2 separate regions of the Homo sapiens genome follow, and region 1 is linked to region 2. The links are contacts of gene promoters, found by promoter capture Hi-C in human tissues and cell types (Jung and others, 2019). All regions are on one chromosome and are shown on one strand. Each heading gives the region's core, a stretch centred on a gene start or on the middle of the fragment in contact. The rest is flanking DNA. Distances are from core to core; before and after follow the strand shown.

The links. Contacts are between HindIII fragments. The study calls those that stand out against the background at their distance.
Region 1: a contact is called between a fragment that was not itself captured here and the fragment with the promoter of MRPS10 in region 2, in 1 of the 25 tissues and cell types used here (mesenchymal stem cells).

Annotation. Positions count from the first base shown.
Region 1 is chr6:42,353,418-42,360,607 of GRCh38, reverse strand. All of the region lies in intron 3 of TRERF1 (transcriptional regulating factor 1), which reads left to right. Among named protein-coding and RNA genes, the nearest start is that of TRERF1, 95 kb to the left of the region's middle. The HindIII fragment of the contact is 3,097 bases long and covers 1,662-4,758 here.
Region 2 is chr6:42,213,281-42,220,240 of GRCh38, reverse strand. It overlaps MRPS10 (mitochondrial ribosomal protein S10), which reads left to right and starts at 2,380. Exons shown (of 7, transcript NM_018141.4): 1 at 2,380-2,439; 2 at 5,897-5,961; 3 at 6,049-6,121. The coding sequence starts at 2,392. RefSeq lists enhancers at 2,213-2,492, 3,064-3,665, 3,666-4,268. The HindIII fragment of the contact is 13,512 bases long and covers 1-6,960 here.

The DNA of each region.
Region 1 (7,190 bases), core at 1,961-4,460, 140 kb before region 2:
CATACTGTACCACCCATAGAAGTAGAATAATACCTTACTAACTTGGACCAGTCATTGGGGATAATAGTGAGAGGACACTCAACCTTAACTAGTAAAAGTTTGAATCTTCAAGTGTTTTAATGTGGTATAGTGTCAGGCAGGATCTTCCCAAACACATCCTGTTGGAAGCAGTTAGCATCTGTTTTTCAGTATGTCTTAAAACGTACGACCTTCTAGTAGGTTAAATATATCTTCTGAAATCCCGTTTAATTTCTAATTTGCTTATTCAACCTTTTAATAGCCAGAGTAAACACTGAACTCAAATTCTGGGTTGGTGAAGATTAAATTACAGTAATGAGGTTCCTCATTTATAAGCTCATCTATAAAATGGAAATAAGAATAGCACCTACTTTATAGGTTTGCTGTAAGGATTAACTGAGGTGATCTGAGTCAAGCGCTTAGCCCAGTGGATAGCCCAATAAATGTTACCTTTATTAGTGTCATATATTGCCAAATATTGTCACCTTTATGTTTTTATGTGCATGTTTAACTAGAAAATTAATTCTCTTCGTAACAAATATATTATCTGCTGCTGATTAGTTCTGTTAGAGAGGAGGTAAATAAAGGTATTAAAATATTTAGTGTTTATGGATTCTTTTTTTACCGAAGTTTTTTTTTTCTGTTAGAATTCATTTTGGGGGAAGCCTAAATACAGATAAGTTTAAGGAGCATACAACTGAAAATAGATAGAACCTCTAGAATATAGGGATTTTAAAATTTTATGGCAATATGTTCTTATATTCTTAGTTGAAAAATCTCTTAAATAGTTGATGGCCTGTCATGACCTCATGACCTATCCCAGCTGATTTTTGGGGTTTTTTTTGTTGGTTTTTTGGGTGTTTTTTTGAGACGGAGTCTCGCTCTGTCACCAGGCTAGAGTGTTGTGGTGCGATCTCGGCTCACTGCAACCTCCGCCTCCCAGGTTCAAGTGATTCTCCTGCCTGAGCCTCCCGAGTAGCAGGGACTGCAGGCGCACGCCACCGCGCCCAGCTAATTTTTGTATTTTTAGTAGAGATGGGGTTTCACCATGTTGGCCAGGATGGTCTCAATCTCCTGACCTCATAATTCACCCACCTCAGCCTCCCAAAGTGCTGGGATTATAGGCGTGAGCCACTGCACCTAGCGATTTTTTTCCTTATTCTCAGTCTGGAGGCTCTGGAGGGATGAGTGACCCCCGCTTGCCTTTGGTTTCCTGAACCAGCTACACAGTCAGACTGTCCTGGGAGGATGGATGGATTTTCGGATCACTGGGATTGAGTGAGATACTGCAGTACTGAGAAACTAGTCTTGGGCATCCACTTCAGTAGAATTTCAGCTGACAATATGATGAATCATTCCAGAAAGCCTCTGGTGCCACAGGGCTGACCTCTCAGAATCCCAGGAGGGTCAAGCATCTTGATTTGGGGTTCCCAGATTAACGGTGCGGAGAGCACTGGTTGGCACAGGGCCTCCAAAAGCTTTACCACCTGTTCCAGAACCAGGAGGAGGAGGCTTTGACGATGGAGGGGTGAGCATGTAGGGTGCAGCAGGAGAACAGTGTTCCATAGTGGCCAGGAGCTTTGAAGACTACATTCTTCATCCCCACTCCCTGAGTGTTGACTAAAGTTAGACTTCCGTCTTCTGTAGGTTGTTAGTTGCACTTGGGGCTTGCCACCATTTTGATACCTAGATGAGCACTGGTTGACTCCAAATTCCTTGGCTCAGAGAGTGCTGTAAACTAGTGGTTCTCAAATGAAGATTGCCTGGACCCAGAAAGCACTAGGAGAAAAAAAAAAAAAAAAAAAAGCTTTAGGTCATTGACCTAGGGCTCCCAGTCTTTTTTATTTTGCCAAGTTAGGACATTTTAAAAACTCTTAACACTCATCACAAAGCTTTTATGAAAAAACCATCTTGATGCCAAAGTAGTAGGAAAAGATAATATAAGAACAAAACAAAAATCTTTAAATAGAAAACACTCAGCTTTAGGAATAATTTACTACATTGTTCTTATTTTTCTGACATCACCTGTGAAAACTCCACCAAGGGAGGGTGGGCACTGCCCCGCATTTGCCCTCCAGGTGTCAGGTGCCCACCTGGTGATGTGGAGTTAGCTGCTGAATGTGCAACTGTAGGGAAATACACCCTACTTTTTGAAGCCTCACTTGGAGCCTAAGAGTTCTCTAGAGTCATATCTTGATTGGATTTATAAGTTAAAGTTGGGGGAAAATCCATTTTAATACAAGTTTTGATAAACCCAATTTATTTTATAAGGAAGGAGCCGTTTACCCTGCAGTCATTAACTTAGAATTGTTAGTTTAATTTTCCACCAGCAGGAAGAAAATCTTGCAATACCTAAGTAGTTCAAATTAGAAAGTGTGTCAACAGTTTTTCCTTTTCCACTATTTAACCCTAAAAATGATAAATGTCTTCAATTTGATCTGACTTTCAGTTGTATGGTATGCCTCTGTAGGTGGGAAAGGGTGTGTGTGCCAACCCCACCCCCAACCCCCCACATATGCAGAAAACTTGGTTTGATCCCAGGAGCCCCAGAAAGGAAGGGGTGCTTGTGAGAAATGTTGCCGGTAAGTGCTAGTATTAATACTTGTAGCAGTCACTTGCTGGTGTTAGTACTTGTAGCAAAAGTTGCATCTCAGAACTGCCAAAATAGTGTGACTTTTTAAGACGCCTTTTGGAGTCATTAAAAATCCCCAAACATACACCCAACCACCCCTGCCATCCAGAAGCTTAACTAAACATTACTCATTCTGCTTTCATTACACGTCTGCCTGGCTTTGCCACAAACACACTTTGCCTTCCAGTCAGGATTAAGCTTCTGTGTTAGGCCATGACTGGTGTGAAAGTAACCCCTCTGTCCTTGTTGACTGGGACAGAAAGACTGCTCGCTCGCCCGTGTGAAATTGTGAATGGAATCATGGAATCCTGGAGCCAAAGCAAGTTGGTTGCCTTCCTGCAGGACTATCCTAATGCTCATCACCTTGACTGGCAAAAGGTGTCCTAATTCTAACGTTTCATGGGTCTCCTGTAAACAAGGACGTGATCTCAGATGTGGCTTTCTCAATAAAAAGAAGACCATTCTGTGGCACACTAACACCTACAGTTATTGTCTGTTAACCGCATTCTTAGGCAAAGCGTTACCGTTTGAGTCCTTCTAGTAGCCTCATCTGTGCTCGTATGCTTATATGGCACAGTTCTTGCATGTTCTAGCAGACACTGGATTTTTTTTTTTTTTTTTTTTTTTTTGAGACAGAGTCTTACTCTTTTGCCCAGGCTGGAGTGCAGTGGTGCAGTCTTGGCTCACTCCAACCTCTGCCTCCTGGGATCAAGCGATTCTCCTGCCTCAGCCTCCTGAGTAGCTGGGATTACAGGCACGCACCACCATGCCTGGCTAATTTTTGTATTTTTAGTGGAAACAGGGTTTCACCATGTTGGTCAGGCTGGTCTCGAACTCCTGACCTCGTGGTCCATCTGCCTCGGCCTCCCAAAATGCTGGGATTACAGGCGTGAGTCACCGCACCCAGCCAACATTGGGTCTTAATTTGTTCAGACCCCTTACCACTGGTTTCTCTCAAGGCATATCTTGCTCCACGGCAGACGACATTGTGCTTTTTGACAGACATTACCACAACATTCTTGTCTTAGCTCAGGCTGCCATAACAAAATACCATAAAGTGGGTTGCTTAAACAATAGAAATTTATGGGCCGGGCGCAATGGCTCACACCTGTAATCCCAGCACTTTGGGAGGCTGAGGTGAGTGGATCACGAGGTCAGGAGTTTGAGACCAGCCTGGCCAACATGGCAAAACCACGTCTCTAAAAATACAGAAAAATTAGCCAGGTGTGGTGGCAGGCACCTGTAATCCCAGCTACTCGGGAGGCTGAGGCAAGAGAATCGCTTGAACCCGGGAGATGAAGGCTGCAGTGAGCCGAGACTGTGCCACTGCACTCCAGCCTGGGCAACAAGAGCAAGACTCCATCTTAAAAATAAATAAATAAATAAAAATTATTTTTCACAGCTCTGGAGGCTGGGAAGTCCAAGATCAAGGTGCTCAGCAAGGTAAGTTTTATTCTGAGGCCTCTTCTCTTGGCTTGTGAGTGAGAGCCATCTTGCTGTGTGCTCACCTGATCTCTTCCTTGTGCACTCAGAGACAGGAATCTCCTCTTCCTCTTCTTATAAGATCACCCATCCCATCGTGGGAGCTTCACTCTCTTCACCTTACCTAAACTTAATTATCTCTCAAAGACCTCATCTCCGAATGGCATCCCATTGGGGTTTAGGGCTTCAACATAGGAATTTGGGGGAAGAGAAACATTCAGTCCGAAACAACTCTTGAGTCTTTATTTGTGGTGCCTGTGAAGTGCTTATAGGGTCACTGGTCCAGGGGCCCTGCAGTACAGAAAGCCTTAGAGCGACAAGTGTTCCTTGTTGTGGAAGAGGGGAAGCATCCTAGGCTGCAGATGGCACAATAAAATGGGAAGTTGGAAGACCTTTACCACAGAGCTGGAGGTGACCTGGGGCTAGACAGAGGTTCTCCTTGTCTCTCCAGGTCTCAGCTTTCCTAGTTCCGAATGTCAGTGGTAAAGTTGTGGTTGCCAACTTGGTCAGCCTCAATGAAATTTGAATGGTTCAACACATCCAATATTCCATGATCACCTTCTATAACCTTCATGTGCCTCTTAAAAGGAGGCTCTTGGAACCAAAGCCTGGGAAAATGTGTTTTTTTCTGAACACTTTATCATCTTGGGCATTTACTCCCTTTTCATGGGGGAAAGAATGGCCATAAATTATAATAGAGCTGTTCCATTTGAGATCAGTATCTTACATGTCATTCTAAATGTATACTAACATGGTAATGTCCACGTGGACACACACACACTCATACACCCCTGTGCCAGGTGGAATATTTTAAGATATAAAAAGGCCTTTGAAAATCCTTTTAAACTCTCAAGGAACAGATAATTCCTATGTTATATAAACTGTTGCGGGATTGAGAAAAAAGATGGAAAACTTCCAGATCCTTCTTTCAAGCAAGCAAGGCCCTGATATCAAAACAGGCAAGTCCCCAGAGGGAGGATCTATACCAGTCTCACTTAGGAATGTAAAAGTTTTAAATAAAATTCTAGCGAGTAGATTTCAACAATAGAGTATGTGAATGTTCTACCATAACCAAATAGATTATATTCCTGGAATGCAGGAATAGCTTCATATACATATATTTTCCTATGGTTCATATAAGTTGTTCAAATAAAGATATGTAATAACCTCATTAATTCCAAAAGTGTATTCAATCAGTTTTTAAGTTTTTATATACCACTTTAAGAGGAATATATAAAGTGACCAATCTTTAATATTATAAGGAATATCAGGTTCATGCAGCCCACTGCCGCTATATACTTACTGGTGAAACAATAAAGGCATCACTCGTTACCTCTTCAAGTTTTAGTCAATGCAGAGAGTCATAAAATAGTAACTTGGAGAATAAATATTATAAAGAAAAATGACAAAGTTATTATTAACTACAGATTGCTTAGTTGTAGATGAAGAAGACTTAAAGAGTTTTACTAAAAACCCTATTTCTAGATAATGAGCTTGAAACTAAGGATTTGGATTCTTCTCAAATTAGTTCATGAGTCTAGTACCATTCCTCTGAAAGTCCCATCAGGATGTTTTAAATTTCACAAGATGTTTCTATGTCTGCTTGGAAAAATAAATAGATGAGAACATCGGGGGAATTCTGAAAGTGGTTTTGGGGAAAGGGAGTTAGATCTATTGGATATTAAAATATATAGCACTATGAGGTATTAAAATGCAATATAAAGTCTTTGTAATTAAAATACTGTGGTGCTGTCATAAAAGGAGGAAGTAGATTAGTGAACTAGGATAGTTCAGAAATAGACCCTTGCATAAATAATTTAATAAATCATAAAGCAGTCATCACAAATCAGTGGGGAAGGAAAAATTATTCAATAAATAATTCTGATGCCTCATTAACAATTTGGGAAAAATCATTTTGGCTTCACCAAAATGAATTACAGATGGATTAAACAATTAAAGTGCAAAATGTAGAGGCATAGGAAATCTATAGCATTGAATATTACTTAGAAACAAAAGAAAAGCATTCAAAAAGGAAAAGAATAGTCAATCAAACTACAGGAAAATGAAGCGTTTATGTGAAAAAAAAAAAGGGAAACAACAGACTGGGGAAAGACTGGCAATAATATGACAGAATTAATCTTTACACTGCAAAGTGCTCAAATTAAAAAGAAAAGTACTAAACCTTGTTAGAACACTTGAGTAGATAACTAAATACAACACTAAACAAATATATAGAAAATGTACAAATTCAGCAGTAATAAGAAATATGCCCTCTCATGGCTCTGCAGGCTGCATCTGGACCCTTCCCCCAAGCACTGACACAATCACCCTCCAAGGCAGCTGGATCCAAACCCCAATCCCACCCATGCCTCACAAAGGGCCTCTGGCCACATTCCAGCTCTTACACTGAGACCCCTGAAGATCTTCATCCAAGCTGGTAATGGGTACATATATTCTAGCTACTTTTGTGTACGTTTGAAATTTTTCACAATCAAACATAAAAAAATTAAAGTAATACATATCCATTGTTGAAAGCTTATAAAATATAGCAAATATATAATTCCAGAACTACCATCACGATTTTTATTAAAATCCTCCCATAATCTTTTCTTATGCATTTATAACTATGTTTATATGTATACACGCACACACACATTTTTTAAACAATAAAGAAATTATACTACTTGAATTGCTTTATAGCCTGCTTTTTTACCTTATGAGCATTTTTATGCTTTGTTCATTTAGATCTTCAGCATAATTTTAATGTCTGTACATTGTTTCAGTACATGAATACACAAACACACATATATCATAATGTATTTAACCAGCTCCTTACAGATAGATAGCTGAGTTGTCTTTTTTTTTCGTTTGTTTGTTTTTGTTTTTTGAGGTGGAGTTTCACACTTGTTGCCCAGGCTAGAGTGCAATGGCGCGATATTGGTTCACTGCAGCCTCCACCTCCTGGGTTCAAGTGATTCTCCTGCCTCAACCTCCTGAGTAGCTGGGATTGTAGGCACCCGCCACCACGCCTAGCTGATTTTTTATAATTTTACTAAAG
Region 2 (6,960 bases), core at 1,131-3,630:
TAGAAACTTAATGGCACAAATAGTGGATGACATCTATAGTGTATCATTACATGGCAGTATTGTACTAAACACCATATATTGGTATTGCATTGAATTCCCAAGCAACTATTGGAAGCAGGAACTACTGTTATCTTTTTTTTTTTTTTTTTTTTGACATATGAGCAAACTGAGGCTGAGGGTAAGGAAGTAACTTGCTCAAAGTCACTCAACTAACTGGTAAGCCTGGGATTAGAAACCAGATCTGATTATAAGGCTAGAGTTTTCCATTAGGCTAAAATGCATATGTGAAAGCACTTTGGGGAAATAAAGCTTAGAAATGTGAACAAATGGGCCAAGTGCAGTGGCTCATACCTGTAAAACCAGCACTTTGGGAGGCCAAGGTGAGAGGATTGCTGGAAGCCAGGAGTTTGAGACCAGCCTGGGCAACATAGCAAGTCTCTGTCTCTACAAAACAATAAAAATAAAATAAAAAATGGTCGCAAACACCTGTAGTTTTAGATACTCCAGAGGCTGTGGTGTGAGGATCACTTAACCCCAGGAGTTTGAGGCTGCAGTGGGCTATGATCAAGCCAGTGCTCTCCAGCCTGGGCAACAGAGCGAGACACTGTCTCACACACACACACAAAAAAGACAATATAGTATTATAGAAGCAGACTTTAAGATGAGGAGAAAGTAAAAGGAAAAATAAAAATAAATTTTTAAAGATTTGCACAAATGGAATAAGTTTTTTTTTTGGAGACGGAGTCTCGCTCTGTTCCCTAGACTGGAGTGCAGTGGTACAATCTCAATCTCGGCTCACTGCACTCTCTGCCTCCCGGGTTCAAGAGATTCTCCTGCCTCAGCCTCCCAAATAGCTGGGATTACAGGTGCACACCACCATGCCTGACTTTGTATTTTTAGTAGAGACAGGGTTTTGCCATGTTGGCCAGGCTGATCTTGAACTTCTGACGTCAGGTGATCCACCCGCCTTGGCCTCCCAAAGTGCTGAGTGCTGGAATTACAGGTGTGAGCCGAGCCACTGCACCTGGCCTTTTCTTTTCTTTTCTTTTTTTTTTTTTTTTTTTAGACAGAGTCTCATTGTGTCTCCCAGGCTGGAGTGCAGTGGCACGATCTTGCCTCACTGCAACCTCCACTTCCCGGGTTCAAGCAATTCTCGTGCCTCAGCCTCCTGAGTAGCTGGGACTACAGGCACACAACGATGACACCCCACTAATTTTTTGTATTTTTAGTAGAGATGGGGTTTCACCATGTTGGCCAGGCTGGTCTCGAACTCCTGACCTCAGGTGATCCGCCCACCTCAGCCTCCCAAAGTGCTGGGATTACAGGCGTGAGCCACCGCACCCAGCCTGAAGAAGTTTTTATTATAGCAAATCCCAGTTATACATCTTTTTACTTGGAAAAAATTATGGTGGACATTAATAATTAGACAAAACACTTTGGCTTGTTGTAAGTGAAGCTAGCCATTGTAAATTCCTAAATACTAGAGTAACATAAGGAAATGAATAATTTAGAAAGATCAGTAGGACAGCGGTATACAAAATGGTTGGAGCACAGGAATTCCAATTGGTGTGGGGAAGGAAGAAAGGATTAAGAACCATAATTAGAAAGCCGCTGCAATAAGGTAACTGAGTGGCAACTGGACCCAATGGTAGTGGCCGACTTTTCTTTTTCTTGTTAAATATAGATTTTGTTAAAATTTTGAAAAATGCAAAAAAAATTGAAAAATGCAAAAATAGGAAAATAAATCACCCATTATTCCAGTACTGAAGTAAATGGTGTCAATACACTAGTTTCAGTCCGGGCTTTGTGGTTCATGCCTGTAATCTCAGTCCTTTGGGAGGCCAAGGCCAGAGGATCACTTGAGGACAGGAATTCAAGACCAGCCCACAAAATAACGAGAGCAATATAATGAGACCCTGTCTCTACAAGAAAATTAAAAAAAAAAACAAAAAATTAGTCGGCTGTGGTGGCACGCACTTGTAGTCCAGCTACTTGGGAGGCTGAGGCAGGAGGATCACTTGAGGCAGGAGTTTGAGGCTGCAGTGAGCTATGACTGTGCCACTGCACTCCAGCCTGGGCAGCCGAGTGAGACTCAGTCTCTAAAAGGAAAAAATAAGTAAATAAATAAATGTGTGTGTGTGTGTGTGTGTATACACACACAACAATTTAAAGGTGAAAACATTAATAGGGCTTGGTAACTATCCAGACACTGGCCGGAGCCAAACCAGCCTGGCCAGCCAACTGTCCCGCCCCCAAAAAGCACAGGTTCATGTCTCTATGGTTGTTCCAGCGCCGGAACATGAGGATGTACTCTCTTCTTTTGCGGAACTCTATGGTCTGAGGACGCCGCTGTAACCCCGGAAGCAATCCTGAGAGGTCGGGACCGGCAAGATGGCGGCGCGGACAGCGTTCGGTGCTGTGTGCCGGCGCCTCTGGCAGGTACTGGATTGGCTAGGGAGACTAGGAGGGCTGACCGGGATAGTTGCTTTTAAGTTTCCCTGCCACCAGCCGCTCTGCCCATCAGGATTTTTCCTGATATTTATCCCTCACCTCGCGCCGTTTACAGGAAAGTGACGAGAAAGGGGCTAGTTTTATCAGAATTCTCTCATGGAATTAAATATAAGTTAGTGAGTCCAGGCAAAGATAGGAACAAGAATAATCGTAGAATGTCAGAGCTGGAAAAGATTTTGTACTTCGTATGTTCCAAAACCCCTCCTTTCACGCTTGCAAAATAAACTGAGGCTCAGAGAAGACAGGAAATTTGCCTCGCGAAAATTAGAGGCTGAGCTGGTGCAAGATATCAGACTCTTCCCATGGAACTAAATTGAGATGCTTTCCTGGCATCCAAATTTAGATGAAGGTCTCAAGCCAGAGAAGTGGGTTAGATATCCTCTGCGCAGTTATTTGCAGGAGGAGCAAAAACTTTTCAGCAGCGGTTCTCCTGCTTTTTGGCCTTGGGACCACTTTACACTTTCGGAGTTCAGGACTCCAGAGAGCTTTTGTTTTTGTGGGTTTTTGCTATCTATATTTAGCTTTTTGGAAAATAAAACTTAAGAATATATATTGATTTAAAAGTAACACTAACTCATTACATGTTACAACTAATACTTTATGAAAAATATATTTTCTGAACAAACTGAGTAAGGAGCAGCAATGTTTTACATTTTTGCAGCTCTCTTTAATTTCTGGCTTAATAAAAGCTAGATTCAAATCTGCTTCTGTATTTAATCTTTTCCTATATCACACCTCAGGCTGTCACGGGAAAACTTCACTGTACACTGGTAAGAGAATGAGTGGAAAAGTTGTAAATGACGTTTTGGTTTTATGAAAATAGTTTTGATTTCCCGGATCCCCTGAAAGTGTCTCAGACCCCACAGACGTCCTCAGACTACACTTTGAGACCACCGTTTTTGTTTTTGTTTTTGTTTGGAGACGGAGTTTCGCTCTTGTCGCCCAAGCTGGAGCGCAATGGCACGATCTCGGCTCACTACAGCCTCCACCTCCCGGGTTCAAGTGATTCTCCTACCTCAGCCTCCCGAGCAGCTGGAATTACAGTCATGCGTCACCATGCCCAGCTAGTATTTGTATGTTTAGCAGAGACGGGGTTTCACCATGTCGGTCAGGCTGGTCTCGAACTCCTGACCTCAAGTGATCCGGCAGCCTCGGCCTCCCAAAGTGCTGGGATTACAGCCTTGAGCCACCGCACCCGGCCTGAAAACCACTGTTCTTGAGAAAAGTCAGATGGTATTAGAGATTGAAATTTTTGAACTGCTTTATTAAGACAAATTTACCCAGACAGCCCTCCCTTCCAAACCACCACTCCCCCAACACACACACACACACACACACACACACTCTCTCTCTCTCTCTCTCTCTCTCTCAAGAAATACAAAGAAAAAATGCAATTTAAAAACTTCTTGGCCGGGCACGGTGGCTCACGCCTGTAATCCCTACACTTTGGGAGGCCGAGGTGGGCGGATCACGAGATCAGGAGATCAAGACCATCCTGGCTAACATGGCAAAACTCCGTCTCTACTAAAAATACAAAAATTAGCTGAGTGTGGCGGTGGGCCCCTGTAATCCCACCTACTCAGGAGGCTAAGGCAGGAGACTTGCTTGAACCCAGGAGGCGGAGGTTTCAGTGAGCTGAGAATGCTCCACTGTACTCCAGCCTGGGCGACAGAGCAAGACTCTCTCAAAAAAAAAAAAAAAAAGAAAAGAAAAAAAAAAGAAAAGAAAAAGCAGAGGTTTATAGTGGGAGAATGTGACTGAGAAGTGTAATATTCTTGCTCCTCTTGCACAACTCGATTGTGGGGTCACTGGTGTAATTGTTGGGAGGGAATTTTCTATGCAATTTTGTCTGAAGAATGGCACATACCTCTTACCACTTTGTGTTGTACCTGATTTCCTTTTTCCTTTTCCCCTTTGGTGCAAAGAAGATTATAGAGTTATGATTTGTCTCTATCTTGGGTAAGGAGAGGAAGGACAATAAGCTAAGAATAGGCTTTTAAAACGTGGCTAGGTGGTGGTTCACTCCTGAAATCCCAGCACTTTGGGACACTGAGGCTGGAGGATCGCTTGAGCCCACGAGTTCAAGACCAGCCTGGGAAATATGGTGAAACCCCATCTCTACAAAAGTACAAAATATTAGCTGGGCCTGGTGGCCCGTGCCTGTAGTCCCAGCTATCTGGGAGACTGGGGTGGGAGGACCACCTGAACCTGGGAGGTCCAGGCCATGATCATGCAACTGCACTCCAGCCTGGATAACAGAGTGAGACCTTGTCTCAAAAAAACCCTGAAAAAACAAACAAAAACGTACTTAGGTGACAATCATTTGTATTAATGAAACTTCACTTATGCTAAACTTCTTTTTTTTTTTTTGAGAGGGAGTCTCGCTCTGTCACCCAGCCTGGACCTCCGCCTCCCGGGTTCAAGCGATTCTCCTGCCTCAGCCTCCCAAGTAACTAGGATCACAACCGCACCGCCACCATGCCTGGCTAATTTTTGTATTTTTAGTAGAGACAGGGTTTCACCATGTTGGCCAGGCTGCTCTGGAACTCCTGACTACAAGTGATCCACCCACCTTGGCCTCCCAAAGTGCTGGGATTACAGGTGTGAGCCACGGCACCTGGCCTTATTTTCATCTTCATTGTGTTTTTAAGGATTCTATTGTGTTTCCACTTTCTCAGGTTACACTTCAAAATCTCAGAAAAGTTGAAAGGAAAAAACAGCTGTTATATGTAGTAGTATCGTTTGTTTCCTAAAACTGGAAAGTCTTGTTCCACCAGGGGGAGCTGATGGTAAAGGATTTGGAAATGTGGGTTCGTTGTAGCATGTGGCACAGTAGTTAATGATGGGTATAAGTCACAGCACATATTTCAGTTCATTATAAGCTAGTTATCCCAGCCAAGCTAAGAAATATGTATGCTTTAAAAGATGTATGAAAGCATCAAAAGAGGGATACTTCAGAATTTTTATTCCAACTCTTAACAAATTATAAAAACAATATATTTTATTGCTTAAAGATATTCAGGCAAAATAAGTATTATACTGAAGTACAATTAATTTGTAAAAAATAATGGGAAAATGAAGTCACATTTTTTCTTGATGTCCACATAATTCATAGCTTTTTTTAAATGTGAGAATTGTTTTTTTTGAAAAAGTTTTTATTCCTAATCTTTAAAATAGAGATTCTCTAGTATTTTGAGACTGCTTTTTTTTTTATCATCAGCTCTACCATTGTCCTCTTTTTTTTTTCAATCTAATTTGGCCATTTTAGTTACCCCAGTATCTTCGTCTGAAATAATGAGGTAACCTTTTAGTTTTTAGTGGAAATTATGAATGGTTTGGTAGTTGACTTTAATTCTAACACATGTCCTACTTTTTTTTTCTTTAGGGATTGGGGAATTTTTCTGTAAACACTTCTAAGGGCAATACAGCCAAAAATGGTGGCTTGCTTCTGTAAGTATACAATTGGATGTGCTAAATTGAACAAAATAGGTTCTTGTGCTATTTTACTTAGGTTTCTCTTTTTTTCCCCACACATAGCAGTACCAATATGAAGTGGGTACAGTTTTCAAACCTACACGTTGATGTTCCAAAGGATTTGACCAAACCTGTGGTATGTACTCCCTGTTTCTTGGTATAAGGAGCTACCTTGGCAATAGGTTTTCCTTATTATTTCATTGGGTTTTTTTTCCCCAAACACTCTATGAATAAAAAAATTTTGTCCTAGAATACTGGCAAATGCACAACGCATATATTCTCTTAACTCCCTGGATTATATTGTCTTCAGGGTATCAAAGTAAGTTCTAAAGGAATAAATTATTTACCCCCAAATAACTGTGTTAATTAGTAGTCTCTTGCTTTTAGCTTGGCATAATGGAAGAGTTGTCAGAATTTGTGATGTAGAATACTTGATTTATGTTATGGAAAAGTATTTTTCTTGTAGCCTTCAAGTCTTTGTTTTCATTTTGTGTATTGAGCCTGGGCCTGGACAGTGCTTTATTGTTCACAGTGAGAAAATGCGTTAGCACAAATAATAAACATCTAGAAGGAACTTGGTAACCCTGTAGAAGCTATGATTTCATCAATCCAGTTTTTTGTGTTACTTGTAATTTTTAAAAATCCTTTCATTTCCACCCCTCAAAAATAACCCCCTTTAACAGTTTGGGATTACAGTTCTAGACATTTGTCTGTAGGTACTCACTTTGTCTGTGCACATGTCTAGTTTACTGCTCTTTTCTAACTTTTCTCTTAATAGATATTGGATATTTATTTATTTATTTATTTTGAGACAGAGTCTCGCTCTGTCACCCAGGCTGGAGTGCAGTGGCATGATCTCGGCTCACCTCACCTCAGCCTCCTGGGTTCAAGTAGTTCTCATGCCTTAGCCTCCCGACTAGCTGGGATTACAGGCACACACCACCATGCCTGGCTAATTTTTGTATTCTTAGTAGA